6 separate regions of the Homo sapiens genome follow, and regions 1, 2, 3, 4 and 5 are each linked to region 6. The links are contacts of gene promoters, found by promoter capture Hi-C in blood cells and fetal thymus (Javierre and others, 2016). All regions are on one chromosome and are shown on one strand. The core of a region is centred on a gene start or on the middle of the fragment in contact, and the rest is flanking DNA. Distances in the headings are between cores, read along the strand shown. Region 1 overlaps UGDH (UDP-glucose 6-dehydrogenase). Region 2 overlaps LIAS (lipoic acid synthetase). Region 3 overlaps UGDH (UDP-glucose 6-dehydrogenase). Region 4 has its middle 27 kb from the start of LIAS. Region 5 has its middle 23 kb from the start of UBE2K. Region 6 holds the start of PDS5A (PDS5 cohesin associated factor A).

Region 1 (4,946 bases), core at 1,715-4,214, 460 kb after region 6:
CGGGAGGCTGAGGCAGGAGAATGGCATGAACCTGGGAGGCAGAGCTTTCAGTGAGCCGAGATTGCGCCACTGCACTCCAACCTGGGCAACTGAGCGAGACTACGTCTCAAAAAAAAAAAAGAAAAAGAAAAGAAAATGGGGCTGGGCGCAGTGGCTCACGCCTGTAATCCCAGCACTTTGGGAGGCCAAGGTGGATGGATCACCTGAGGTCAGGAGTTCGAGACCAGCCTGACCAATATGGTGAAACCCCGTCTCTACTAAATATATAAAAACTAGCTGGGCGTGGTGGTGGGCACCTGTAATCCCAGCTACTCGGGAGGCTGAGGCAGGAGAATTGCTTGAACCCAGGAGACGGAGGTTGCAGTGAGCCGACATGGTGCCACTGCACTCCAGCCTCGGTGACAGTGAGACTCCGTCTCAAAAAGAAAAAAGAAATAGAAAATGGAGTTGGCAGACATCTGTGTCATGCAAAGTGTGTCACTAACACTATGTCAAACTCCATGTTAAAGCTTATTGAAGATTTTATTGAAACTTCCAAGTGAGCATTTATTTGGACTTGCACAGATTGTACATCAGCCTTTTCATTGATTCTCCCATTGTCATCGGTAAGCCGTATTTCATGGGAAATAGCAAGGCGAGAATACCCAAAATAAAGCTTGTGTAAAACACATCCAGTTCTGTGATACAAGTTCACCTGCCATCAGTAGTCTATCCCAGCTGATGTATGTAAAGCAAGTTGAAATGTGGTCTCACAATCAAGGCAGATAAGAAGTAACTCTGGGGAAACATGCTGAAGTTCTTTAGGTAACTCAAAAAAAGAACTTGGCCAGATGCGATGGCTCACACCTGTAATCCCAACACTTTGGGAGGCTGAGGCAGGTGGATCAACTGAGGTCAGGAGCTTGAGACCAGCCTGGCCCACATGGTGAAAACCTGTCTCTAGAAAAAATACAAACATTAGCTGGACATGGTGGCGGACACCTGTAGTCCCAGGTACTTGGTACTTGGGAGGCTAGGTGGGAGACTCACTTGAACCTGGGAGGCGGAGGCTGCGGTGAGCCCAGATTGTGCTGTTGCACTCCAGCCTGGGCAACAGAGTGAGACCTTGTGTCAGAAAAAAAAAAAAAAAGTTGATAGTATTCTGGTCAATTACTGCAAAAATACTATGATCGGCAATCTGAACTAAAGCTATTTACACAGAAGTCTTCATCTCAAAAAGAGACGCCCTTGTGGAGAGTTACTCATTCATTCAATTAATAATCATTGAGAGGCTGCTATTCTAGGAGTCAAGGATACAGCAGGGAGCAGCAGCAAATAACTGTTAGCCTGGCTGTGCCTTATTAAACTATGAACTCCTTAAGCCCAGGAGCTGCAACGAGTAGACACTGATTCTACATTTAATAAATGTGTTAGCAGAACCTGTCCTGGTTGAGATTAAGAGTAAAGGCTGCCCTAATAACCTTTTGGCTAGGAGATTAAGTGGTAACCCTAAAAGATCCTCTGGTCCAACATTACTTTGAGATTCTACTCTTTAGGTATTCTAGATATACTGGGTTTAATTAAGTGAAAAAAGCCAGGTGTTAATAGTATATATGGTATTCTATTGAATTTAGAAAGACAAGATTATTAGAATATATATGTATATTTACTTGTAGCTGGGAGGATATACAAGAAAACGGATTGCTTGTGTGGAAGCAAAGTAGGGGATAGCAAAGTAGATAAGGAAGGGGTTGGAGTGAGACTTCTCATGTGTACCTTGTTACAACAGATTTAATTTTGAACCATATGAACATTATTCAGAATCAATAATTTTTTTTTTTTTTTTTGAGATGGAGTTTCGTGCTTGTTGCCCAGGCTGGAGTGCAACATGGCACGATCTCAGCTCACTGCAACCTCCGCCTCCCGGGTTCAAGCGATTCTCCTGCCTCAGCCTCCCAAGTAGCTGGGATTACAGACATGTGCCACCATGCCCCGCTAATTTTGTATTTTTAGTAGAGATGGGGTTTTGTCATGTTGATCAGGCTGGTCTTGAACTCCTGACCTCAGGTGATTCAGCCTCCTCGGCCTCCCGAAGTGCTGGGATTACAGGCATGAGCCACCGTGCCTGGCCAGAATAAATAATTTTTAAAAATTTATTTCATATGGCTAAGAATACTATTTGAATACAGATTCAAATAGAATACTGTTCTATTTAATTGAATCATATAATTCAAAATTCTGTCCATTTTTACTATTTTACCAAAGTTCTATTTCTTTTAATTGTTTTTTAAAAGTCATGAGGGGCCTGGCACAGTGGCTCGTGCCTGTAATGCTAGCACTTTGTGAGGCTGAGGCAGGCAGATTGCATGAGCTCAGGAGTTCGAGACCAGCCTGGGCAACATGGCAAAACCCTGTCTCTACTAAAAATACAAAAATTAACCTGGTGTGGTGGCATGCACCTGTAGTCCCAGCTACTTGGCGGGCTGAGGCACGAGAATCAAACCCAGGAGGCGGAGGTTGTAATAAGTGCAGCTGAGATGGTGCCACTGCACTTCAGCCTGTGTGACAAAGTGAGATTCTGTCTCAAAAAAAATAAATACCGTGGTGGCTCATGCCTGTAATCCCAGCACTTTTGGAGGCTGAGGCGGGTGGATCACGAGGTCAAGAAATCCAGACCATCCTGACCAACATGGTGAAACCCCATCTCTACTAAAAATACAAAAATTAGCTGGGCATGGTAGTGTGTGCCTGTAGTCCCAGCTACTCGTTAGGCTGAGGCAGGAGAACTGCTTGAACCCAGGAGACGGAGGTTGCAGTGAGCCGAGGTCACATTGTACTCTAGCCTGGCGACAGAGCAAGACTCTGTCTCATTAAAAAAAAAAAAAAAAAGTCATGAGGGATCAGACTCCATGAGTTGATATCTATACCACTAAAGATCAATGCATAAGCCAGATTGGTAGTTTATTAACACAGGCTACAAACAATCCAGGATACCTACATGGATTAGTCAGCTCATTTTCTTCTAGTAGGGAAATCTATCCAGAGAACCAAACGAAAATTTAGAATATTGTTTAATACAGATTCAAACCAAAAAGAATTGGATAATCTTAATTATATGATTTGTCTTTTTTCATAATAGGGATATTCTTCTTGCCAGGCATTCAAATTAGGCCAGCCTTCCAGAGTGCGTTCTCTGATCCATACAGGAGTATACTAAAAAATTCTTAAACTCTCTGATTACCATTTTCCTTCTCTTTGGAATCTGTGAATGGGTTAGATTAGATGATGTCTGAGGTCTTGGCAAGGCAAAACCATTCTTTGCTTTTAAGAATCTGATCAGTTTGACAGTTCTCATTATAACGGATAAATGAGCATACTTATGTATAAATCAGTTCCTTGTCATTTTGATTAGTGTGAATCAGTTCACCTAATGCTTTTGAAAATCTATCAAAATCTGTGTAACCCACTTTTCTGCTGGCATTGGGAAGGAAAAAAATCTGTGTAACAGCTTTGGTAATTACAGAAATTACATTTTCTTTAACCACCTTATGGTTTCTGATTAAAGTTGAAATGGAGTTTAAGATTATTGCCTAGTACCTAAAAGTAAACTTTGAAAGCCAAAGTAGTGTGTAGGGCATATAATCTCATCAGAGGCCAATTCTGGACTGTGGAACTAATCTTATTCTATATCATCGTAATCTAAACCTGTTATAAACTCATCTTTGTACACTAGCATTTATTTAAGCAAGAATCGTACAAGTATGTTCATCCTGGAGCTTTCTCTCAGCAATCAAAGTTGTCCTAGTGTATTATAGACCTAAGGAAGGTTTTACTTTGATTCTTTACTTTCTAAATATTAGGTCATTATAATCTTTGTGGCTCCCCTTCAGTAATATCAGTTACTGTAATTATTTCCATATGTTTCATGCTAGTGCAGCTGAGAACAGGCTAGGTCATCCAATTGGAATGTTATTTTTTAAATCACTATTTCCATAATTCCTCAGAGCGAATGTAGGAAATCTTTCCAGATATCTGTCACCTTGACAGTTTTTATAAAGTATAATTAATGTACAATATTATTTCTTTAAATTTTCTGTTTTCAATACTAGAACAGTCTTACTGTTTTCCTTCTAGTACAATCATGTTTGAAATTAAGAAGATCTGTTGCATCGGTGCAGGCTATGTTGGAGGACCCACATGTAGTGTCATTGCTCATATGTGTCCTGAAATCAGGGTAACGGTTGTTGATGTCAATGAATCAAGAATCAATGCGTGGAATTCTCCTACACTTCCTATTTATGAGGTAAACATATTAAACATCTCTTTGTTTTTATGCTTTTTTCTTACTGTCTTTATTATATCATTTATATGCACTATTAATATAAAAATCTATAACAGCAACTGGTAAGAAATTAAATGAAAAAAATCTGGATACAAAACACATGGACATTAAAACACATTACTTCGGGTAATGTGGGTAGGAAAAATGACCAGAAAGAAGTCTATCAGAATGGTGTATTAGTGCAGTGAGATTATGGATAATTTTTTCTCTTTCCTGTTTTCTTTTTTTTTTTTTTTTTTTTTGAGACGGAGTCTTCCTCTGTCGCCCAGGCTGGAGTGCAATGACGCGAGCTCAGCTCACGGCAACACCCACCTCACGGGTTCAAACAATTCTGCCTCAGCCTCTTGAGTAGCTGGGATTACAGGCGCCCACCACCACACCCAGCTAATTTTTGTATTTTAGTAGAGGTGGGGTTTCACCATGTTGGCCAGGCTGGTCTTGAGCTCCTGAACTCAGGTGATCTGCCCGCCCCGGCCTCCCAAAGTGCTGGGATTACAGGCGTGAGCCACTGCACCTGGCCTTCTTCCCTGTTTCCTAATTTTGTCTGTTAGTATCATTACCATATTATAATAAAATTAAAAAGTGGTATCCTGTAAAAATAAAATAAATACAACTTTTAATAATA
Region 2 (5,080 bases), core at 1,600-4,099, 510 kb after region 6:
CTCCGACAATCATTATCACATGACTTTTTATCCCTTGGAAAATGATTTTCTTTTCATAAATCAATTCAAGCTATTGATTAAAATAAGAGCTGAAATTCCAAAAGTAAAAAAAATTTGCATTGTAGCTAGTAAAACAACTAAACGTTCCTACGGAGAAAAATAATCTTATGGATATTTTTCTGTTGCCTCTGGGGGAAAAATACAAAGAAATTTAATGATGCAAGCAATGCTATCAAATAAGATACTTTTCAGTGCTTAAACTGATTGAAACTGAGTCTGGAGATGCAGCTGGCATCATTTCCAAATAAATATGTATTTCTCAGAAAACCCTATTAGATGCTTGACATGCTCTGTCATTTCTGAATAACCTACTACTGAAATCTACACATAGAAAAAATTAATAAACTAATTGTTTCTGCTTTTACTATAGTAGCTGAGTTACAAAGCAGGGGGCTGAATTTGTTTAAGAAACAAAAGATTAAGAGAAACTTTTCTTAATATGATCCCCATGGAGCAAAGCTCCTAAGGATGTTCCAGAAGAAAAACTACGCCCTCTACCAAGACCACCAAAGGTATTAGAATTTGTCAAGAGTTTTAGTGACTGGTGGTAGAACTTAATGTGGAAAGTTAACGGCCTAAATGAAACCATGCCCCACAATCTAACTTACCTGCTTTATATGAAGAACGCACCAAAGGGCCACTTGCAGTATAATGAAATCCAAGTTCATTTCCTACTTTTTCCCAGTATTTGAATTTTTCAGGAGTAATATATTCTTCAACCTAGATTTAAATAATTACTTCTGATCAGATTTTAGAATTCCACTTTGATTCTGCAGAAAGTCTATACCTATGTATGCAGAATGCTCTTCACTGCGTAATTTATCTTGCCCCCACCCCCAGGCTTTTGTCCTCTCCCTCCTCCCTGACTACGTGTTTACTGGTTACTTTTTGGCCACTCTATTGGGATGTAAATACAGGGAATTACAGAGACAGGGAAGCATATCAATTTTGTGCTACAATGGCTATTCCAAAGGACAGAGAAAGAAGAGATTATCTACAGATATTATTTATCTATATTTTTCCTTCGTTAACAGCTAAATTCAAGAATTACTCATGCTTATCTGATTCTTGAGGACAAGACTGTCTTACTCAACTTGTATCTTCTGCTTAGCACTGTGACTGGCACATGGTCACTGCTCAACACAAGCTTCTTGAATGAATGGATAAATGTCCATGATAGAAATAGAAAGAATGGTTTCCCATTCTTTCTTCGCCTCTGGCTCTAACATAACAAAAACAAGTTACACAATAACCAAGTGTAAATGAGTGCCATTTCCCAACTTTTAAATTCTTTTTCTCTAGGTTCACTTGAGTTGTGAAATTTGTGAAGAGAATGGGGGAGGCAGCAAATATGTGCAAACGTAGCTGATTTATGTAGATAATAAAATGAAAACTGGGACTTATAAGAATACAGCTGAGCCTTGAACAACATGGTAACTGCACAGGCCCACTTATACAAGGATTTTCTTCCATTTCTGCCACCCCTGAGACAGCATGACTAACTCCTCCTCTTCTCCCTTGTCCTCATCTACATGAAGATGATGAGGATGAAGACCTTTATGATGGTCCACTTCCACTTAATGACTAGTAAATATATTTTCTTTTCCTTATGATTTTCTTCAAAAAATTTTTTCTCTAGCTGACTTTATCATAAGAATAAGATGTGTATATATGTGTGTGTGTGTGTGTGTGTGTATATGTGTGTGTGTATATACAGATATACACACACACATACGTATATATATAAGTACATGTAACATACAAAATGTGTGTTAATTGACTGTTATTGGTATGGCTTCCGGTCAACAGAAGGCTATTAGTAGTTATGTTTTTTTGGGAGTCAAAAGCTATACATGGGCTGGGCGCAGTGGCTCACACCTGTAATCCCAGCACTTTGGAAGGCTGAGGCGGGTGGATCACCTAAGGTCAGGAGTTCAAGACTAGCCTGGCCAAAATGATGAAACCCCATCTCTATTAAAAATATAAAAAATTGGCTGGGTGCGGTGGCTCACGCCTGTAATCCTAGCGCTTTGGGAGGCCGAAGCGGGTGGATTGCCTGAGCTCTCAGGAGTTCGAGACCAGCCTGGGCAACATGGCAAAATCTTGTCTCTAAAACTACAAAAAAATTAGTCGGGTGTGGTAGTGTGTGCCTGTAATCCCAGCTACTCAGGAGGCTGAAGCATGAAAATCATTTGAACCTGGGAGGTGGAGGTTGCAGTGAGCCGAGATTGCCCCACTGCACTCCAGCCTGGGCGACAGAGCGAGACTCCGTCTCAAAAAAAAAAAAAAAAAAAAAAAAAAATTATATATATGTATATTTTAGCCGGATGTAGTGGCACCCGCCTGTAGTCCCAGCTGCTCAGGAGGGTGAGGCAGGAGAATCACCTGAACCCAGGAAGCAGAGATTACAGTGAGCCGAGATTGTGCCACTACACTCCAGCTCAGGCGACAAGAGCAAAACTCCATCTTTAAAAATAAAAAAAAAAAAAAAAAGCAAATCAAGATACATGTACCTTAAGGTGACGCCTTGTTGGCTGCATATATTGTCCTAAAGTCAAGCAGTCTACATCTGCCTCACGAAGTGCTGTAGGAAGAAAAGCACAAATTACATTAGCAAATACTTTAATTGTAGATCTAAGCATAATTTTCCTAAGGAATATTTAAAAACGGTGTGAACTTTATGACAGTCCATAATCTTCATGTTGGGGAATAAGACAACATCTATTCATTCAAAAGTATTATGTGCCAGGGACTGTGGTAAGGACTGAAAACAATAATAATTAAGACAGTCATGTAGGGCTGATACATACAAGGATAAATACTTCTAATACTATGGAATCAATGCTAAAATAGTAGTGGAGGGTATTTTAGAGTAGGAGTCTGGTAGAAAAGGTATGGGAAATGGTATATGCAAAAACCTCAATGCACCTATATTATAGAGCAAATATGTTGCATTAGGCTTTTACTCAATGCACAAGATATGCTATGGGGGCTGTGATTTAAACTATGACATATCAGAATCTTTCTAATAAACTGTGTGCAATGTGGTAAACAGCAGGTCTTGATTATTATATGAACTTATTACTCTTTGAACCACTAAATAACTACAAGTAGTCCAAGGGTCCTCAGCTAAAATTAAAACTTTGAAATTCCAAAGTTTAAAAAGTCCAAGAATCACAAAGCAAATGGACTTACGGGACTAAAGTTCAGCAAAGTCCAAAGCACACCATGTTATGTGACAATGCTACAAGTAAGCTCTTTCTCAGAGGCCTGGATTAGTCTCATTGATCTATGAACTGTCAGTGCCTGGTACCAGGCTGGCTCTCCAAAAGTGTCCAATGATAGAATGAGAAAAGTGGATGAAATCATGCTTTCAGTGGATGCAAAGGATGGGGAATAAAATGGGATATAAATTTTGTATCCTGAGCGTCATGCATATCACTCCATGAAATTCCAAGAAAATTTATTTCCTTTGCTTTTTTTTTTTTAACTTGTATTTTAGATTTGAGGGTGCATGTGCAAGTTGGTTTCCTTTTCATGCTGCCATCTATAACCATATACTTTTCTTTGTTCTTAGAAGGGCCTTCAAAGTGAGTGGGTTCCTGCTATTACTCAAATTACATGGGAAAGATTTTTCATTTTTCAATTTCTTTACCTTTCATTGTTGCATATACTTGCTCATCATTCTCGCCTAAACCCAACATTATAGATGTTTTAGAAATAACATCAGGCTGAACCTTCTTGGCATGTTTCAGTACACGTAGGGACTGATCAAAATTGGCCCGAGGATCACGAACCTTACTGGAAAACAGCAGGACTGTTGTCAGCAAGAATTACAAGTTCAACCAAGTACATAGTTATGCAAGCAACCTGAAAGACCAGAGAAGTACATTCTGCACATTATCTTAAATCACATAGTTCAAAGGTAGCATTTATGCACAGATGCCTGTTAATTTAGGAAAGAAAAGGCCTCACTGGGCTCCCTAGTTCTATCTCAAGCCTGGGGCAGAGAAAAGTAGAATGGAAGAAATTACTTCAGTTTATGCATTGAGAAACCAGAATTCTGAAGCGAAAAATTAGAAGAGAAAGGAAAAAAAGCAGAAGTAAGAGAGTCTCCATACTGAACAAAGAAAAAAATAAGCTGAACCCACATGTCAGAGGGTTGAAACTTTCAAGTTCATTTCTTTTCTGAAGACTAAGCTGCCCTCTGCTGGTAAGTATACAACACTGCCACATATTAGGTAAAGAAATGCATGATTCTGGAATTTTCACTGGAAAGGATCATGTTTTTAAGTGAAACCAGGGAAACTGGCACCCACTGGTGGTGGTATCATGATGAGGTTGGAACAGGCTGTGTCCTAGACTTCAACAATGGCCAAACCACCATGGCTTAAATGACTTATCCTTTAAGCCAAAAGGCCAGAAAGCTTCTGATGTTAAACTGGATTTCATTTCAATTCTAATGCAGCTTTATTTTCTGTAATTGTTTTTCATTGGAGACTAGTTAACAGGAAAGAGAAGAAACAAATTTATGAACTTAAAAGTAACTGAAACTGACATTATAGAAATCACTTTTTAACAGAATTTCTCCACTGAAATTAAGTTATGGTCTCTACTGTTTATGATTTAGTGAAAATGGTGGTTATTGTTTACTGTAACTTCTTTCAGGCTCTATGACACAGATCATATGTAGAAGCTAATAAAATCACTGCTAAATGCTAAAATTAAAGAAAAAAATGATATTACTCTTGCCCGAAGCTTAAAATGTTCATTTTTCTAAAATTTGAATGGATGTGGATAACAATCCTTACTTTTTTTCTTACATCAGTGTTACTTGCCAATGATTAGTCTTAATTACTGAAATTATTAGGAATAAGAAAGCATAGTGTCTACTTTTTTTAAAAAGTACATCTGAATGATATGAGTTTTTTTCTTTTTTTTTTTTTTTGAGACAAAGTTTTGCTGTCGCCCAGGATGGAGTACCATGGCACTATCTCGGCTCACCGCAACCTTCGCCTCC
Region 3 (4,983 bases), core at 608-3,107, 470 kb after region 6:
CAGTGGTGCCATCGCTGCTCACTGCAGTGACCTCCTGTGCTCAAGCAATCCTCCCACTTCAACCTCAACTTCAGGAACGCACCACCACATTGGCTAATTTTTTTATTTAAAAAATTTTGTTTGTAGAGACAAGGTCTCACTATATTGCCCAGGCTGGTCTGAAACTCCTGGGCTCAGCAGTCCTCCCATCTTTGCCTCCCAAAGTGCTGGGAATATAAGTGTTAGCCAGTGAACCTAGCCTAATTCTTCTCTATCTTGAAAGGCATAAAATCAAAATAAAATAAGAACCTATATTATAACGTTGGTCGGGCATGGTGGTTCACACCTGTAATCCCTGTACTTCGGGAGCCTGAGGTGGACAGATCACTTGAGGGTTGGGAGTTCGAGACTGGCCTGGCGAGGCTGAGGCATGAGAATTGCTTGAACCCAGGAGGCGGAGGTTGTAGTGAGCCAGGATTGTGTCACTGCACTCCAGCCTAGATGACAGAGCGAGACTTCGTCTCCAAAAAACAGAACCTATATTGTCATGCTTTCAAGTGGTTTTGTATCTGCTGATATTTGTTTTGGACCTTTCAGACTCACAGAGCTAAAATTAGAAACCCCTTCCAAATTGGAAGCATTAAGTGAGCTCTGGGAAGTAGAGTTGATGTTTATTGAATGCTTACCCTGTACTGGGTACTCTTTTGGGCACTTTGCATACAGTATCTCATTTAATCCTCATCACTAACATTATCCTCTTTATTTGATGAGGGAACTGACATGGAGATATTAAGTAATTTGCCCCAATTACTAGTCGGTATATGTGCCTTTCCCAAATATTTTCCCCGAGTTTATAATTTTTCAGGTTTCAGCAGTAGATATGGGAGGGAATCTAAAGAAATGCACGTTTCTTTTTTTAAAATGTTTTACTTTTTAGAGACAGGGTCTCACTGTGTTGTCCAGCCTAGATTCCAACTCTTGGGCTCAAGTGATCCTTCCACCTGAGCCTCCTGAGTAGCTGGGACTACAGGTGCACCACCCTGCCTAGCCGGAAATGCACATTTTAAAGTGAAAACAGATACAATTAGTGTCATTCCAGTCAATCCATCATGATGGCTTTATCTCACTGTTCATTGTGTGAAAAATGCAGATAAACTCTTGATTTTCCAACACTTTGGGCTAATTGCTTAAGCTCTCAGGGTTTGATTGAGATGGTCCCTGAAAGCTTAAAGCCTTAAAAAAGTTTCTTTTGCTTCGCCCACCCGGTTACCAACCTAAATTTAACAGATTAAGTGATCAGAGACTCTTATAACATTTAGTTAGTTAAAAAACCTTGTCAAATAGTTGTGGTGTTATGGTTCATCCAGAGGCAGCTAGAACTCTGCACATTGTTTGTTGCCTGTCCACTTTCCACTGAAACTGAATTTTTGTGAATAGTGGGGCACAAGCAAATGAAGGAATACTTTGGGGTTTCATTGCTTGTAGCTTGTTTCCACAGAATTTGGAGACACGGACTAAGGATAGTATGGTTTCCTATGTGCCTTATTTAGGTTGGTCTCATAGCTGAACCTCAAATGCGCTTAGAATTAAAACTTGGTTGTGCGCTCCACTTTTGGCATCCATCCTAGCCTTATGCATAGAAAATCAAGCCAAATGAAATTAGAAATTTTTAGAATGGCTTTTTTTTTTTTTTTAAATTTACGGCAGGGTCTGGCTCTGTCGCCCAGGCTGGAGTGCAGTGGCATGATCTCGGCTCACTGCCACCTCTGCCTCCTGTGCTCAAGCCATCCCACCTCAGCCTCCCAAGTAGCTGGGACTACAGGCACATGCCACCTTGCCTGGCTAATTTTTGTATTTTTTGTAGAGACAGGGTCTCGCCGTGGTGCCCAGGCTGGTCTTGAACTCCTGAGCTCAAGCAATCGCCCACCTCGGCCTCCCAAAGTGCTGGGATTACAGGTATGAGCTACCACTGCTGGCCTAGGATGGCTTTAAGGAAGGGGATGAGTGATTTTTTTTTTTTTTTAATCCATAGGCACTAGAGTTTGGTTAATTTTTGCCTCTTGTTAATATGTAAGCATTGTATTTGTACAATAGCACTCACCATAAAATTCTGAGTAATGTGTGTCATAGGCTGTGCCTCTTTTAACTAATCATTGCACAATTGTACATGTAATTTCAGGTCATAGACATGAATGACTACCAGAGGAGGAGGTTTGCTTCCCGGATCATAGATAGTCTGTTTAATACAGTAACTGATAAGAAGATAGCTATTTTGGGATTTGCATTCAAAAAGGACACTGGTGATACAAGGTATCAGTTTTTAAAAATATTTCAACCCTTTTGAGATTGTGTTAACTCCTCATCTTAATTTTTTGATTGGGGTAGGTGTACATAAAATACATGTATATATATAAAATATAAAGAATAAAAATAAATATCCATATCTTCACCACTCTACCAGCTTCAGAAATATAATTTTACCTGTATCTTAAACTCCCTGGTATTAGAATATAATGCCACATAAAGCTTACCAATACTGATTTTTTTTTTCCTATAGAGAATCTTCTAGTATATATATTAGCAAATATTTGATGGATGAAGGTGCACATCTACATATATATGATCCAAAAGTACCTAGGGAACAAATAGTTGTGGATCTTTCTCATCCAGGTGTTTCAGAGGATGACCAAGGTAAGGCTTTGAGTCTCATGAATCATTTTGAGTCCAGACCTGAAAACTTTTTATCTTTTGGAAACCTTAGGTTGTTCAGTTTTATCATGTATATCATTGGTAGGCCCTCTTTTCAACCTCATTTCTCTGAAATTAAAGTCTTAGGCATAATGTCATCAACATTGATTTGAAGTGATCAGCTGTGGATTGGTCCATTGATTTTTCCAACATACTCCACAAATCCCCAAAATTCCAAAGAGATGCTTCCAAAGCAGGGTTTGGGGCCTCCCACCATCACTCCCATTGATACTGCAATCAGATTATTCCCAACTCTTCCTGCAGTCCTAGTGTTAGAATACCTATAGTACTATCCCCTTATGTGTGGTTTTGCTTTCCACGGGTTCAGTTATCTGCGGTCACTTGCAGTCTGAAAGTACTAGAAGGAAAATTCCAGAAATAAACAATTCATAAGTTTTAAATTGTGTGCTGCTTCATCCTGCCTGGGACATTTATCATTCCTTTGTCCAGCATATCCACATTCCATATGCTACTTAGTCACTTAGTAACTTTTGGCAATCAGATTCAAAAAACAGGTATGTGTGTAAGTATATATAGGGTTCAGTACTCTCCACAGTTTCAGACATCTACTGGGGGTCTTGGAATGTATCCCTGCAGATAAGGGGGGAACTACTGTAATGTCATATAACTCCTTTCTTATTTCTGTTTTTTTGTTGTTGCTATTGTTACAGTGTCCCGGCTCGTGACCATTTCCAAGGATCCATATGAAGCATGTGATGGTGCCCATGCTGTTGTTATTTGCACTGAGTGGGACATGTTTAAGGTAAGGTAACAGAAAAGATACTAAGGAAAATTCTAGAGGTGTTCCACTATCAGCTGGGGTTGAGTATGTGTTCATGTATGTGTTTTTTTGTTTTTTTGTTTTTTTTTTTGAGATGGAGTCTCGCTCTGTCGCCCTGGCTGGAGTGCAGTGGCGCAATCTCGGCTCACTGCAAGCTCTGCCTCCTGGGTTCACGCCATTCTCCTGCCTCAGCTTCCTGAGTAGCTGGGACTACAAGCTCCTGCCACCACGCCCAACTAATTTTTTGTATTTTTAGTAGAGACGGGGTTTCACCATGTTGGCCAGGATGGTCTCGATCTCCTGACCTCGTGATCCACCCATCTTGGCCTCCCAAAGTGCTGGGATTACAGGCATGAGCCACTCCGCCCGGCCCACGTATGTGTTTTAATTGTTCCTGTGGTTTGTCTTTACAGGAATTGGATTATGAACGCATTCATAAAAAAATGCTAAAGCCAGCCTTTATCTTCGATGGACGGCGTGTCCTGGATGGGCTCCACAATGAACTACAAACCATTGGCTTCCAGGTAATCATGATCCTGGATTGTTTTTTTTCTTTTTGTTTGGTCTTTAGTGTTTGATTCAACAACTGGGGACTATAATCTAGTCAAGTTGACATCAAAAGACCATCACAGCAGGTCAGAATATGTTTGGCTAATTAAGATGATACCTTCTTTCTAGGGAAGTTCTTTTGGGGAACCAAATCAATATCAGAAGTTTATTTCAACAATTAGGAAAGTGCTCATTTGCTTTTTAAACCCATTGTGTGGGTTTTAGAATTTTCTTATTTTCTTTAGCAGTAACGTAACTCTGGGGCAACATGTCAGTTCTTTAGGAAGTCCCTATGGGATTTTTCTGACTACTCTACTTCTCTACTTCCTCCCTAAATTTGCGATCTAAAGGTAGAGAAAGAAAGAGGTCTTGGTCAATCAGCAGGTGTTCATCCTATACCTTCTGAGTACTCAGCACTGTGCCAGTGCTGTGAGGGGTCTGAATGAAACATATGGGAGTTTCAATGGTACTGGCCCTCTTCTGATTCAAAGTTTGTCAACTGGCCAGGCATAGTGGTTCACACCTGTAATCCCAGCACTTTGGGAGGCTGTGGAGGTAGACCACTTAAGGCCAGGAGTTCGAGACCAGCCTAGCCAACATGGTGAAACCCCGTGTCTATTAACAAATACAAAAATTGCTGGGCGCGGTGGCTCACGCCTATAATCCCAGCACTTTGGGAGGCTGAGGCGGGCGGATCACAAGGTCAGGAGTTCGAGACCAGCCTGGACAATACTGTAAAACCCCATCTCTACTAAAAATACAAAAATTAGCTGGGTGTGGTGGCACACACCTGTAATCCCAGCTACTTTGGAGGCTGAGGCAGGAGAATCGCTTAAACCTGGGAGGCGGAGGTTGCAGTGAGCCAAGATCACACCACTGCACTCCAGCCTGGGTGACAGAGCAAGACTCCGTTTTGGGAAAAAAAA
Region 4 (5,019 bases), core at 261-2,760, 490 kb after region 6:
AACAGCCGTGTTAGATCTTGAACTATTTCAGCTACAAATGCCAGTCCATTGTCTGACACTAGAGTTAGAAGCAGTCTAAATCTGGGAATAATGTCTCTTATCGGTACTTTAGTTACTTCCTGCGCCTCTTCTGTCCGGGTGGGGAAAGCCTCAACCTACCCTGAGAAGGTGCAGATGAACACCAACATGTACTGATAGCCTCCTGCTTGGGGCAGCTCGGTAAAGTCCAGAAGCAAGTTTTCACAAGGTGTGGCCTCTATTTCTTGAATTCCTGGGGGCCGGGTAGGCCCCTGCAGAGGGTTGTTCTGAACACAAGTTAGACATTGTTCACAAACGGCTCGGGCAATGGCAGTGAGTCGTGGCACACAGAAATGGAGTCTAAGTAGTGTCTCTAATGCCATTTTTAAAAAATATGAGTTATTTGATGGAATTGTTTTTACAAACTTAGGGGCTACCATTTCAGGAATGGCTAGCCTCCCATCTGAGAATTTCCACCATCCTCCTTCAATGTAATTTCTGGCTTCTTGGGCAAATTAGGCCCGTTTCATTTGGAGAATAATTTGGGACCTCTGGCAGGGGAGGCTCTGGGAGGAGAGGCAAAGCTAGGATCTCCTCTTTACAGTGCGGGGTAGTCATTGCTGACCGTTTTGCCTCCTTGTCTGCTTTTCTGTTTCCTTTGGCCTCTAGTGTTCCTGCCTTTTGGTGCCCTTTGCAATGCATAACGGCTACTTTCTTTGGAGCAGCCCATATAGCATTTAAGAGCTGTAGAATTTCTTCTTTGTACTTTCTTTGCCCCCTACAGTTAAAAGTCTTCTTTCTTTATATATAGCTCCATGAACATGTAATGTAGCAAAGGCATACTTATAATCCATGTAGACATTGACTATTTTTTTTTTTTTTAGACGGGGCTCGCTGTGTCACCCAGGCTGGAGTGCAGTGGCGCCATCTCGGCTCACTGCAACCTCCGCCTCCCAGGTTCACACCATTCTCCTGCCTCAGCCTCCCGAGTAGCTGGGACTACAGGCGCCCGCCACAACACCCAGCTAAGTTTTTGTATTTTTAGTAGAGACGGGGTTTCACTGTGTTAGCCAGGATGGTCTCGATCTCCTGACCTCGTGATCCGCCCGCCTCAGCCTCCCAAAGTGCTGGGATTACAGGCGTGAGCCACCGTGACTGGCCAGACATTGACTTTTTTTGTCTTTTGCTAGCAAAAGGGCTCTTGTCAGGGCTATTAGTTCTGCCTTTTGGGCTGATGTTCCGGTGGGCAGAGACTGTACCTCTGCTGCTGAGTTTAATGTTACTACTGCATACCCGGCTTGTCAGATCCCTTCCAGTACAAAACTGCTTCTATCTGTAAAGTATTCAACATCTGGGGCCCTGAGGGGTTGGTCTGTAAAATCTCTCTGGCTTGAGAACACCTTATCTACTATATCTCCACAGCAATGAAGGGGGCCTCCTGGTTCTGACCCTACTACTACCAGTGCCTGATTTACAGCCAGCCCTGGTGAGTTATCTTCAGCCTATACTCCAGGAATTTTAGTAAGTAACCGATACATTTCATTTACTCCTGGTTCTGGAGTCTTTTTTGCATATAGTCTCCAGTCCTCAGTCTGTGGGACAGTAAGGGTTAACATCATGGCCTTCAGCTCAGTTAGGCTCAAAGTCATACTTCCTTGTGGCCCAAAAGCAATCTGTACTTGGAGTTTTTGGAGTAGGTCTCTTCCCAGCAAAGGAACTGGACAATTTGGGAGGTATAGGAATTCATGTTGGACCTCTCGTCCTCCTATAACACACCTCCTTGACTGACAGGCCTTTTCTCTGAGACTCTAGTGGCTCCTACAATAGTTGTATAGTTCGTGATTAGTGGCCCTATAGGTCAGGTCACTACTGAGTGTTCAGCCCCAGTGTCTACCATAAAGTCCATTAGCTGGCCCGCAACTTCTAATGTGACTATTGGTTCCTGGGGGCCTAAAGAGAAGGAGCCCAGTCTGTCCCAGTCTTCATATCCTTCAGCCCCTGCCAGCCTGATTAGATCAGTATCTAGTTCCCCCAGGGTGCGGCAGCCCTTGGCAGATGGTCTCTTCATACCATGGCCCTGACTACTCTCCTCATTACCTTCTGGACACTCATCCTTCCAGTGTCCCTTCTTTTTGCATCATGTACATTGATCTCTCTCTAGCCTCGGCCGGCTCTCAGATCTCTGCCTAACTTGACCTCTTCCACATCCATGTCCACGTCCACATCCTCTTAGAATACTAGTTTCCCTTTCTACGAGGGCTGCCGCTAACAGATCGGCCCTTTTCTCAAGCCTCTGTTCTGCTTCCTTCTTTGCCTCTTGGTCACGGTTAACATACACCTCAGTGGCCACCTCTATAAGCTGGGTGGCATTCGTGCCTGTAAACCCTTCTAATTTCTGCAGCTTCTGTTTGATGTCACCCTGGGCTTGTCCTACAAATGCTGTGTTCACCATGTGCTGATTTTCAGCTGCTTCAGGGTCAAACGGAGTACAAAGCCGGAATGCCTCATACAGTCTTTCATAAAACTGGCTAGGGCTTTCATCTGCTCCCTGGAGCATCTCTGAGATTTTCCGTATGTTGATTGCCTTTTTCCCACCATTTCTCAGCCTTTGCAGGATTGCCTCTTGGTACCTCTGCAGGTGCTGAAACTGGGTTACATCATTTGGGTCCTCGTGTGGGTCTGCTTCTGGGAGGTGGCCTTGAGCATATGCCTGAGCGTTCATTGTGCCTGCTGGTACATTTGCTTCAAGCCAGTGGAGGGCTGCCTGAGTTATCCTCCGGTGCTCCTCAGTATTAAACAGCATCAGGAGGAGCTGTTTGACATCTGGCCAAGTTGGATTGTGTGTTAGGAAGATGGACTGCACCAGATCTATAAAGGCCTGAGGTTTTTCTGTGCAGGAAGGGGTATGGTGCTTCCAGTTTAGGAGATCAGTGGTTGAAAAAGGCTGGTAAATGAAGGTTCATTCCCTTCCCTGGATTTGACCTTGTTCATTATAATAGAGGGGGGTCCTCTTTTTTACCTGAGAGGCATTTGCATAACCTGAGTGCGGCCATGAGTAGATATAGGGGAATTGGTCCAGGTGTCCCGGCTGTCCTCCGACCCCAGTTACTACCCTAAATACATGACCAATTGCTTCCCTGCCACTCTTGCGTCCTGGGTTGGTTAGGGTGTAAGTTTCCCCAACATTTACGAGCCATTCTCTCATCCTGTGTCGGACTACTAGTTGCACCCTGGAAGGTGATCAGGCTCCCCTTCCCTCCTTATGGGACAGGTCCTGCCTTGGGCCCCAATACCTTACCGTGGTCCTGAAGTGCACTGACCCTGGAATCGTCCTATACCCCTTAGGTTCCGTTGCACTGTCAGCGAAGGGACACTGGGTCGCAGGAGAGCTGATCTCCCCTCCGGGTTGAAGTTCTCCTGATGGCACACCTGGGGTCACAGGTATCCCGCCAGTCTGGGGCTCCAGCCCCACAGGCAAAGGAGACAGCAAACCTGTCATCTCCTCTCCCGGCTGGCTCACCAAAATGTTGTAGGAATCAGAGGACCAAAGAGACCAAATGGGTGTTACAGGAGGATTTTTATTAAGGTGTATGCTGGCTCAGTGGATTCATATCCAAAAAATTGAGGCCAGAACAAAGACAGGGCTCAATTTTTATAAGAAAGCTTACAGAAGCAGAATAAAGACAGTTAATGAAACAGTGACAGGTCTCGTAATCTCTAGCATAGCTTGTGACCTTGCAGTTGCATTGAAGGAGAAACAGGAACTTCTAAAACTTGCAAAATATTTATGGGGAGGTGGTAAAGGGCTAAAAGAGGAATTTTGTTTTTCTTATCCTTATGTTGGGGAGTGCTGGGAGAGCCTCCAGAGCACATTCCTTTTGGGTTCTGACTTCTTAGATAGTGTTATCAGGACCTTGCCTGCACCTGGGCTCTGTCTGTTACTGCTTTTTGGGATGAGACAACCTAATACAGGAAAACGTGTCTTTCTCTTTTAGTTTTTATTTCTTCTTTCTCTAATTTCTGCCTCACTATGGGAGGTCGAGAAGGGAGGATCACTTGAGCCCAGGAGTTCAAGACCAGTCTGGGCAACATAGTGAGATCTCTACAAATAATAGAAAAAAAATTAGTGAGGAGTGGTAGCATGTGTCTGTAGTCCCAGCTACTCAGGAGGCTGAGGTGGGAGGATCACTTGAGCTTGGGAGGTCAAGGTTGCAATGAGCCGATTTGTGCCACTGCACTCCAGCCTGGGTGATGCAGCAAGATCCTGTCTCAAAAAAAAGGTTAAAATGGTAAAAGGAAACATTGAGGTGTTTTTTATTTTTGTAGTCACTTTTTTTTAACTTAAAAATTTTATTTATTTATTGTGTGTGTGTGTGTGTGTGTGTGTGTGTGTGTGTTTTTGACAGAGCTTCACACTCCTGTTGCCCAGGCTGGAGTGCAATGGTGCAATCTCGGCTCACTACAACCCCCGCCTCCTGGTTCCAGCAATTCTCCTGCCTCAGCTTCCCGAGTAACTGTGATTACAGGTGCCCGCCACCGTGCTTGGCTAATTTTTGTATTTTTAGTAGAGATGGGATTTCACCATGTTGGCCAGGCTGGTCTCAAAGTCCTAACCTCAGGTGATACACCTGCCTCAGCCTCCCAAAGTGCTGGGATTACAGGCATGAGCTACCACACTCAGCCGATTTTTTGTGCTTTTTTGAGATAGAGTCTCACTTGCCCAGGCTGGAGTGCAGTGGCACAATTGCAGCTATCACATTATTTAAAAAAAACAACAAAAAAAGGCCAGGTGCAGTAGCTCATGCCTATAATCTGAGCAGTTTGGGAGGCCACAGTGGGTGAATTGCTTGAGCTCAGGAGTTTGAGACCCACCTGGGCAACATGGCAAGACCCCATCTCTGCCAAAATGACAAAAAAAAAAAAATAGGCAGGTGTGGTGGTGGGGACCTGTAGTCCCAGCTATTTGGGGGGCTGCGGTGGGAGGATCACTTGAGCCAGGGA
Region 5 (4,470 bases), core at 1,288-3,787, 300 kb after region 6:
TGCACTCCAGCCTGGGTGACAGTGTGAGACTGTGTCTCAAAAAAAAAAATTATTAAAAAGTTAACCTTATATATGCTCCTGTCATACAGTAAGCCACTATAAATCTGTTAGCTACCATTTTTTTCTTCTAGACAGAGTCTTGCTCTGCGTCCAAGCTGGAGTGCAGTGGCGCCATCCTGGCTCACTGAAGCCTCTGCCTCCTGGGTTCAAGTGATTCTCCTGCCTCAGCCTCCCGAGTAGCTAGGACTACAGATGCACACCACCACGCCCAGCTTATTTATTTATTTATTTTTTTGAGATGGAGTCTCAATCCATCACCCAGGTTGGAGTGCAGTGGCACGATCTCGGCTCACTGCAACCTCCACCTCCTGATGCCCAGCTAATTTTTTTTTTTTTTTTTTTTTTTGAGACGGAGTCTCGCTCAGTCGCCCAGGCTAGAGTGCAATGGCGCGATCTCAGCTCACGCAAGCTCCACCTCCTGGGTTCACTCCATTCTCCTGCCTCGGCCTCCCAAGTAGCTGGGACTACAGGTGCCTGCCACCACGCCCGGCTAATTTTTTTTTGTATTTTTAGTAGAGACGGGGTTTCACTGTGTTAGCCAGGATGGTCTCAATCTCCTGACCTCGTGATCCGCCCATCTCGGCCTCCGGAAGTGCTGGGATTACAGGTGTGAGCCACCGCGCCCGTCCGATGCCCAGCTAATTTTTGTATTTTTAGTAGAGACGGGGTTTCACCATGTTGGCTAGGATGGTCTTGATCTCCTGACCTCGTGATCCGCCCGCCTCAGCCTCCCAAAGTGCTGGGATTACAGGTGTGAGCTACCGCACCTGGCTGCTACCACTATTAAGAAATGTTTGCAGCCAGGCGTGGTGGCTCATGTCTATTTTCCCAGTACTTTGAGAGGCCGAGGTGGGCAGATTACCTGAGGTCAGGAGTTCGAAACCAGCCTGACCAACATGGCAAAATCCCATCTCTACTAAAGATACAAAAATTAGCTGGACATGGTCGTGGGCACCTGTAATCCCAGCTACTTGGGAGGTTGAAGCAGGAGAATCGCTTCAACCCAGAAGGCGGAGGTTGCAGTGAGCCGAGAACGCAACATTGTGCTCCAGCCTGGGCAATAAAAGCAAACTCTGTCTAAAAAAAAAAAAGAAAAGAAAAGAAAAGAAAAGAAAAAGAAATATTTATTTGCAAGCATATTATTAGCTGAGCATCATTAAACCAAACCAGGGAAAATTATTGGTCACTGCCACTTCTTTGGTTCTACTTTTAGTTTGCTTATTTTTGTGTGTGTGTATTTATTTATTTTTTCCAGACAGTCTCGCTCTGTTGCCCATGCTGGAGTGCAGTGGCACGATCTCCGCTCACTGCAACCTCCACCTCCCAGGTTCAAGCAATTCTCCTGTCTCAGCCTCCTGAGTAGGTGGGATTACAGGAGCGGGCCACCATGCTCGGGTAAATTTTGTATTTTTATTTTATTTTATTTATTTATTTATTTATTTATTTATTTATTTATTTATTTATTTATTTTGAGATGGAGTCTCGCTCTGTCACCCAGGCTGGAGTCCAGTAGCGTGATCTCAGCTCACTGCAAGCTCTGCCTCCTGGGTTCATGCCATTCTCCTGCCTCAGCCTCCAGAGTAGCTGGGACTACAGGCGCCCGCCGCCACACCTGGCTAATTTTTTTTTTTTTTTTGTATTTTTAGTAGAGACGGGGTTTCACCACGTCAGCCAGGATGGTATCCATCTCCTGACCTCATGATCCACCCACCTCGGCCTCCCAAAGTGCTGGGATTACAGGCGTGAGCCACCGTGCCCAGCCAAATTTTGTATTTTTAGTAGAGACGGGGTTTCGCCATGTTGGCCAGGCTGGTCTCAAACTCCTGGCCTCAAGTGATCCACCTGCCTCGGCCTCCCAAAGTGCTGGGATTACAGGCATGAGCCACTGCATCCGGCCCTACCACTTGACTTTACGCAAGTTTCTTAAAACACTCTAAACTTCAGTTTCTATACTTTTTGGTAAGGATTAAAATAGATAGATTTCTTGAAATAATTTAACACAGAACCTGACACATAGTAGACATTCAGCAAAGCTTAGTTCTTGCTCCTCTCCCTTCTGCTTTCTGTAATTCATCGGCCAAGGCTGGCTTTCACATCCAAATCAAGTAACCAATTTCAAATCTTACTTTTTTTTTTTTTTTTTTGAGACGGAGTCTCGCTCTGTCGCCCAGAGACTGGAGTGCAGTGGCAGGATCTCGGCTCACTGCAAGCTCCGCCTCCTGGGTTCATGCCATTCTCCTGCCTCAGCCTCCCGAGTAGCTGGGACTACAGGCGCCCGCCACCACGCCCGACTATTTTTTTGTATTTTTAGTAGAGACGGGGTTTCACCATGTTATCCAGGATGGTCTCGATCTCCTGACCTCATGATCCGCCCGCCTCCGCCTCCCAAAGTGCTGGGATTACAGGCGTGAGCCACCGCGCCTGGCCGTCAAATCTTACTTTTAAACCTTACTATCTTAGTGTGAATATCAGGGTTCCCAAGGCTCAGCTGAATCTCTGTCCTTCCCACTGTTTCACTGCTTAACCATTTCTTGAATTCTAAGAGCCTATAGAATCCTGTTTTGCCTGCAATAATTTGAATTGGATTTATACCATTTACAACCACTAATGTATCCATTATCTAAAATGGCAATCAGTTAATCTGCTAAGCTAAATTGCTTAAAATAACTAGTGGCTTTGAATTAAATAATTGAAATATAATTTCATGGCCAGAAGTTTTTTTCAGAAATAATTTAGTCCTGGCCAGGTCCAGTGGCTCATATCTGTAATCCCAACAATTTGAGAAGCTCAGGCAGAAGGACCCCTTGAGGCCAGGAGTTCAAGACCAGCCTGGGCAATATAGGGAGAGTCCATCTCTCCAAAAACTTGAAAAAAATTAGCTAGGCATCATCTGGCGGGTGCCCCTCTGGGATGAAGCTTCCAGAGGAAGGAACAGGCAGCAATCTTTGCTGTTCTGCAGCCTCCACTGGTGACACCCAGGCAAACAGGGTCTGGAGTGGACTTCCAGCAAACTCCAGCAGGCCTACAGCAGAAGGGCCTGACTGTTAGAAGGAAAACTAACAAACAGAAAGGAATAGCATCAACATCAACTAAAAGGATGTTGTCCACACAGAAACCCCATCAAAGGTCACCAACATCAAAGACCAAATGTAGATAAATTCACGAAGACGAGGAAACACCAGTGCAAAAAGGCTAAAAATTCCAAAAACCAGAACGCCCCTTCTCCTCCAAAGGATCACAAGTCCTCACCAGCAAGGGTATAAAACTGGACAGGGAATGAGTTTGACTAATTGACAGAAGTAGGCTTCAGAAGGTGGGTAATAACAAACTCCTCTGAGCTAAAGGAGCATGTTCTAACCCAATGCAAGGAAGCTAAGAACCTTGGAAAAAGGTTAGAGGAATTGCTAACTAGAATAACCAGTTTAGAGAAGAACATAAATGACCTGATGGAGCTGAAAAACACAGCACGAGAACTTCGTGAAGCATACATGAGTATCAATAGCTGAACTGATTAAGTGGAAGAAAGGATAATCAGAGACTGAAGATCAACTTAATGAAATAAAGTGTGAAGACAAGATCAGAGAAAAAAGAATGAAAAGGAATGAACAAAACCTCTAAGAAATAGGGGACTATGTGAAAAGACCACACCTACGTTTGATTGGTGTACCTGAAAGTGACAGGGAGAATGGAACCAAGTTGGAAAAGACTCTTCAGGATATCATCCAGGAGAACTTCCCCAACCTAGCAAAACAGGCCAACATTCAAATTCAGGAAATACAGAGAACGCCACAAAGATACTCCTTGAGAAAAGCAACCCCAAGACACATAATCATCAGATTCACCAAGGTTGAAATGAAGGAAAAAATGTTGAGGGCAGCCAGAAAGTTCAGGCTACCCACAAAGGGAAGCCCATCAGACTAACAGCAGATCTCTCTGCAGAAACCCTACAAGCCAGAAGAGAGTAGGGGCCAATATTCAACATTCTTAAAGAAAGTTATTTTCAACCCAGAATTTAACATCCAGCCAAACTAAGCCTCATAAGCAAAGGAGAAATAAAATCCATTACAGACAGGCAAATGCTGAGAGGTTTTGTCACCAGCAGGCCTGCCTTACAAGAGCTCCTGAAGGAAGCACTAAATATGGAAAGGAAAAACCGGTACCAGCCACTGCAAAAACAAGTTCTGAAATTGAGGCAGTAATAAGTATCCTACCAACCAAAAAAAGTCCAGGACCAGATGGATTCACAGCCAAATTCTACCAGAGGTACAAAGAGAAGCTGGTACTGTTCCTTGTGAAACTATTCCAAACAATAGATAAACAGGGACTCTTCCCTAACTCATCTTATGAGGCCAGCATCATCCTGATACCAAAACCTGACAAAGACACAACAAAAAAAGAAAATTTCAGGCC
Region 6 (4,848 bases), core at 2,033-4,532:
AACTCCTGACCTCAGGTGATCCACCCACCTCGGCTTCCCAAAGTGCTGGGATTACAGTCCTGAGCCACCGTGCCTGAGCCACTGAGTCTAATTTTTTGTCTTTTTAATAGAGATGGGGTTTCACCATGCTGGCCAGGCTGGTCTGAAACTCGTGACCTCAAATAGTCTGCCTGCCTCCCCCTCCCAAAGTGCTGGGATTACAGGTGCGAGCCACCGTGCCCAACTCTTCCCTACTTTATTTTCATATACATGTATTATTGTTATTTTGGTCTATTTCTCCCCAAACAAATTAAGGTCCACCAGGAGGGCAGGCCTTCATTTGTGAAACAATTATTTAAAGAGGCCTATAATATAAGGCATTGTTTTGGGCACTGAGCGGGGAAGAAAAGCTTGGTGGAGGTTGGGTGCAGTGGCTCATGCCTGTAATTCCAGCACTTTGGGAGCCCAAGGTGGGTGGATCACCTAAGGTCAAGAGTTCGAGACCAGGCTGGCCAACATGGTAAAACCCTGTCTCTACTAAAAGTACAAAAATTAGCCAGGCGTGGTGGCGCATGCCTGTAGTCCCAGATCTTGGGAGGCTGACGCAGGAGATCTGCTTGAACCCAGGAGGCGTAGGTTGCAGTGCGCCCAGATTGTACCACTGCACTCCAGCCTGGGCAACAGAGCAAGACTTCGTCTCGAAAAAATAAAATAGGCCAGGCGCAGGGGCTCACACCTGTAATCCCAGCACTTTGGGAGGCCGAGGCGGGCAAATCACGAGGTCAGGAATTCGAGATCAGCCTGGCCAATATGGTGAAACTCCATCTCTACTAAAAATATAAAAATAAGCTGGGCGTGGTGGTGTACGCCTGTAGTCCCAGCTACTTGGGAGACTGAGGCAGATGAATCGCTTGAACCTGGGAGGCAGAGGTGAAGTGAACCGAGATCGCACCACTGCACTCAAGCCTGGTGATAGAGTGAGACTCCATGTTAAAAAAAAAAAAAAAGAAATCAACCAGTAAGGCCAGGCACGGTGGCTCAAGCCTGTAATCCCAGCACTTTGGGAGGGTGAGGCGGGCAGATTACCTGAGGTCAGGAGTTTGAGACCAGCCTGACCAACATGGTGAAACCCTGTCTCTACTAAAAATAACAAAAATTAGCCGGGCATAGTGGCGGGCGCCTGTAATCCCAGCTACTTGGGAGGGTGAGGCAGGAGAATTGCTTGAACCCAGAAGTCAGAGGTTGTAGTGAGCCAAGATCACACCACCACACTCCAGCCTGGGCGACAGAGGGAGACTCTGTCTCAAAAAAAAATTAGCCCGGTATGGTGGCACACACCTGTAGTCCCAACTACTTGGGGGCCTGAGGCACAAAAGTCGCTTGAACCTGGGAGGCGGATGCTGTAGTGAGCCGAGATCATGCCACTGCACTGCAGTCTGGGCGACAAAGTGAGACTTCATCTCAAAAAATAATAAAATAATATAAAAAATAAATAAAATAAAATATATGTACATATACAAAACTCCATTTAATAATGGGCAAGCTACTGAGGAGGATGAAAGATAAAATCATTGTTGTTTAATTAAATGTAACACACAAAGAAATATCAAATTTGGCCGGGCGCGGTGGCTCATGCCTGTAATCCCAGCACTCTGGGAGGCCGAGGCGGGCGGATCACTAGCTCAGGAGATCGAGACCATCCTGGCTAACATGGTGAAACCCCGTCTCTACTAAAAATACAAAAAAAAAAAATTAGCCGGGCGTGGTGGCGGGCGCCTGTAGTCCCAGCTACTCGGAAGACTGAGGCAGGAGAATGGCGTGAACCCGGGAGGCAGAGCTTGCAGTGAGCCGATATCACGCCACTGCACTCCAGCCTGGGTGACAGAGTAAGATTCCGTCTCAAAAGAAAAAAATAAATATCAAAAGTGACAGGGAGAGCCTAAAAAGAGAGCAGCTTTTGGTCCACTTAATAGTTTGGATGAGGACACTTTTAAATGGATTCTGCCTGGTACTGTAAATGCCCAAGAACAAAGCATTGACTTTTGGGCAGAGTTCTAGCAAATCAGCAACTGTGGAGTGTCAGATTCGCAATGACTGCTCTTGTGTAATACGTCAAAAACAAGTCAGTGAGCTGAAATGCAGTACCTTTACTATTTTTAAGTTGACGTTAAAGGATGTGGGAAAAAAATAGACCAATGGGTACCCATCAAGAATAATTTGAATAAACAATCGAATATCATTTTAAACTATGGTAGTGGTCAGTTTCAAGAGCTGAATGTGATTTCATATTATCGTATCCTTTTTTCAACTTTCTCTTCGGAAATTTTGTGTATGCTCTTGATTTTTTTTAAATAGGTAAGTGTATGTTCTTGCGTTAATTTGTTTCAATTACATACATTAAATTGCTCAAACACTGCTGCGTGCACTGTTTTTACCTGATAGTGGTTTTCCTTTGGATGACAGAAAACGTTAATGCTTGGTAGGTTTAAAACATTTTTAAAAAATGAGCTCTTCCTTATTTACAAGAATCACCCACCCAATTAATAAATGCTTATTTCTGGGTTCCACTCTCAGAGATTTTTATGTTTATGTATATTTTTATATTTTTTAGTGTTTTATTTTATATGTTATATTTTTATATGTTTTATGTTCATATATATTTTTACGTTAAAAAAACATATATTTTTATGTTTTTTAATCTTTGGAGTTGGAAACCTACGTTTTCAGCCAGTACCCAAAGTGATTGTGAGGCCTGGTGGCCCAAAGACCATACCTTGAGAACGACTCGACCCAATGCTATTTTCATGTTTTGCAGCTTTCAAAATATTAACTTCAGAAATCTAAGGAGGGTGGGCAACTCGGGTGGCTGTCAGAAGACCCGAGAGTGAGCCGCTCACGCTGCGCCCCATTGCACAACTTTCCTTGACTTTGCAGATCTCTCCCTGAGGAGGAAATCAGTTCATTTTCACCGAGCAATTAACTACCTCCCAACCAGTTTCGTCTATGTCCCTCAGGATGACCCCCAAAAGTCACCAGCTCATCGCCGCTGCGAAAGATAAAGCACTGTTTGCCCTGCGTGCCCTCGCAAGGCCGCGGGAACCTGGGCTCGCTTCCCGCCACCCGGGCTCCTCCTCCTCTCGCCCTCTCCGGTCGGGTCCTCCGGGAGGCGCCCCGCGCGGCAGGTATTGGCGCCAACCGGGTGGCGGCGCTGTCCGCCCTGCGCGCGGCCGCCTCGGGCCCGAGGGAGGCGGATGCACGGCCGGCGGAGGAAGGGGAGGGAGCGAGGAGCGCGCGCTGCTCTCGCGTGCTCTCGCGCCGCTCGCGTGACCGGCCGGTGTGTGCGCGAGGCCCCGGCTCCCGGGGCACGGACGGCCGGGCGCGCGCCTCTGCGAGGGGCGTCCGGGTCCGAGTCGGCGGTCCGGGCCGGCGCGAGGTGCGTGCGGGCGGGCCGCGGGGGTCCCGGACGGACACAAGCGCACACACTCCCGGAGGAGCCTTCGAGGCTGCTCTTCCTCGGCCAGACGGAGAGCGGCACTGTCTCCCCGCCCAGCGCTCACTCGCCCCGCGTCTCCCCCCGCGGCGGCTGCTCCTCCTCGGCACCGCCAGCCCCAGCGCCGCTCCCGGGCGGGCGGGCGGCGGCGGCGGCGGCGGCGGGACCCGCGGAGCCGCTTTGTGTGCAGCCCGACTAGGGGCGGCGGCGCAACCACCTGACAGAGGCCCGGGCGCTCGATGCACCTTCCGCCCGCATGAGGAGGAGGTAAAGGCGGCGGCGGCTCGGCTCCCGCCCTAGGCTGCTGGAGGGAGGGGACGGAAGGGGAGACTGGAGGGGGGGGCCGCGGGTCCGAGGCCCGGTGGGGCCGCCCGAGGGTGCCGGGAAGGCCTCGGCGGTGCCGGAGGCGCCAAGCGGCCGGGGGCCAGAGAAGCAGCTGGGGTCCCTCAGCCGAAGTTGAAGGAACAAAATGTGAAGTGCGGAGGCGCGTCAGCCGCTTCCTGGCGTGGGGCTGAGGGTGGAGGGCGGCTTGTTTTCCCCTCCCGCGGGGGTGAGGGAGCGGAACAGGGGAGGGGTGGCAGCGCGGCGGGGACTACCCCGGGTCCGAGGCTCGGCTGGGCAAGGGCGTTTTGTTCCCGGCAGCCGCCGCTGCGCGTGGGTCCGCTGGGTCCCTAGTTTTGCGGCCTAAGCCGAGCCCTATAGGCCTCGGGTCTGGTTTCCCGGAGGGGACTGGCCGGGCGGGACTGGGTGCTTCCCCACCGCCGAGCGGGGGCCTTGGGGTCCTTGCCGGCCTCCCGGGGCCGCCAAACTTCGGACCCTGGTGCTCGGGGGTGGATTTCATTGTGAAAGGCGGAATGGGAAACTCCTGGCGCTGTTCGGCGGCCACGGCGGCTGGTGCGGAGGAGCCCCGTGAGCCTGGGGCTGGCAGGGCCGGGTTGGCGGGGCCGGCGGGGTTCGATCCCTGGGAAAGAGCGGGTGGCGAGGCCGCTGCCGGGTCCCCGGCCTCTGGGGAGACAGGGCCTTTTCCAGATTAGAGAGATTTGAAATGAAAAAAGAGGTTACAAAGTCGCCCCTTTCCCGCTGAACTTTGGTTTTCTGACCGATAGAGGCCGGTAGAGGACTGTGAACCAAAAGTTGTCCCCCAGGATGGACTTCACCGCGCAGCCCAAGCCTGCCACTGCCCTCTGTGGCGTCGTGAGTGCCGACGGGAAGATCGCTTACCCTCCGGGGGTAAAAGAGATCACCGACAAGATCACCACGGACGAGATGATCAAACGCCTGAAGGTAAGTGTCTGGACGGATTTTGATGTCTTTGGTAGAAGGCGCTTTCTCCTGTGATACTGCTACCCTGCTCAGTCTGGCCTTTAAAGTTCCAAGTT

Evidence for each region. The method cuts DNA at HindIII sites, captures the fragments that hold promoters and counts their contacts. A CHiCAGO score of 5 or more calls a contact.
Region 1: a contact is called between a fragment that was not itself captured here and the fragment with the promoter of PDS5A in region 6, in 6 of 17 cell types (megakaryocytes, total CD8 T cells, total B cells and 3 more). The highest score is 7.9, in megakaryocytes.
Region 2: a fragment that was not itself captured here is called in contact with the fragment with the promoter of PDS5A in region 6 in 14 of 17 cell types (fetal thymus, megakaryocytes, naive CD4 T cells and 11 more); the score reaches 37.5 in fetal thymus.
Region 3: a fragment that was not itself captured here is called in contact with the fragment with the promoter of PDS5A in region 6 in 6 of 17 cell types (endothelial precursors, total B cells, erythroblasts and 3 more); the score reaches 8.5 in endothelial precursors.
Region 4: a fragment that was not itself captured here is called in contact with the fragment with the promoter of PDS5A in region 6 in 5 of 17 cell types (total B cells, erythroblasts, endothelial precursors and 2 more); the score reaches 7.6 in total B cells.
Region 5: a fragment that was not itself captured here is called in contact with the fragment with the promoter of PDS5A in region 6 in 1 of 17 cell types (endothelial precursors); the score reaches 5.1 in endothelial precursors.

What each region holds. Positions count from the first base shown.
Region 1 is chr4:39,520,687-39,525,632 of GRCh38, reverse strand. It overlaps UGDH (UDP-glucose 6-dehydrogenase), which reads left to right. Exons shown (of 12, transcript NM_003359.4): 2 at 4,114-4,282. The coding sequence starts at 4,121. Among named protein-coding and RNA genes, the nearest start is that of UGDH, 4.3 kb to the left of the region's middle. The HindIII fragment of the contact is 4,613 bases long and covers 658-4,946 here.
Region 2 is chr4:39,468,800-39,473,879 of GRCh38, reverse strand. It overlaps LIAS (lipoic acid synthetase), which reads right to left. Exons shown (of 11, transcript NM_006859.4): 8 at 3,716-3,861; 9 at 2,574-2,644; 10 at 669-780. Among named protein-coding and RNA genes, the nearest start is that of LIAS, 12 kb to the right of the region's middle. The HindIII fragment of the contact is 3,280 bases long and covers 1,210-4,489 here.
Region 3 is chr4:39,502,924-39,507,906 of GRCh38, reverse strand. UGDH (UDP-glucose 6-dehydrogenase) reads left to right here. Exons shown (of 12, transcript NM_003359.4): 8 at 2,159-2,289; 9 at 2,537-2,670; 10 at 3,399-3,490; 11 at 3,922-4,032. Among named protein-coding and RNA genes, the nearest start is that of UGDH, 22 kb to the left of the region's middle. The HindIII fragment of the contact is 1,301 bases long and covers 1,207-2,507 here.
Region 4 is chr4:39,483,667-39,488,685 of GRCh38, reverse strand. No RefSeq gene overlaps it. Among named protein-coding and RNA genes, the nearest start is that of LIAS, 27 kb to the right of the region's middle. The HindIII fragment of the contact is 4,347 bases long and covers 1-3,683 here.
Region 5 is chr4:39,672,911-39,677,380 of GRCh38, reverse strand. No RefSeq gene overlaps it. Among named protein-coding and RNA genes, the nearest start is that of UBE2K, 23 kb to the left of the region's middle. The HindIII fragment of the contact is 883 bases long and covers 2,096-2,978 here.
Region 6 is chr4:39,976,345-39,981,192 of GRCh38, reverse strand. It overlaps PDS5A (PDS5 cohesin associated factor A), which reads left to right and starts at 3,282. Exons shown (of 33, transcript NM_001100399.2): 1 at 3,282-3,736; 2 at 4,576-4,753. The coding sequence starts at 4,616. RefSeq lists silencers at 3,058-3,697, 3,748-4,497 and an enhancer at 4,035-4,848. The HindIII fragment of the contact is 4,779 bases long and covers 392-4,848 here.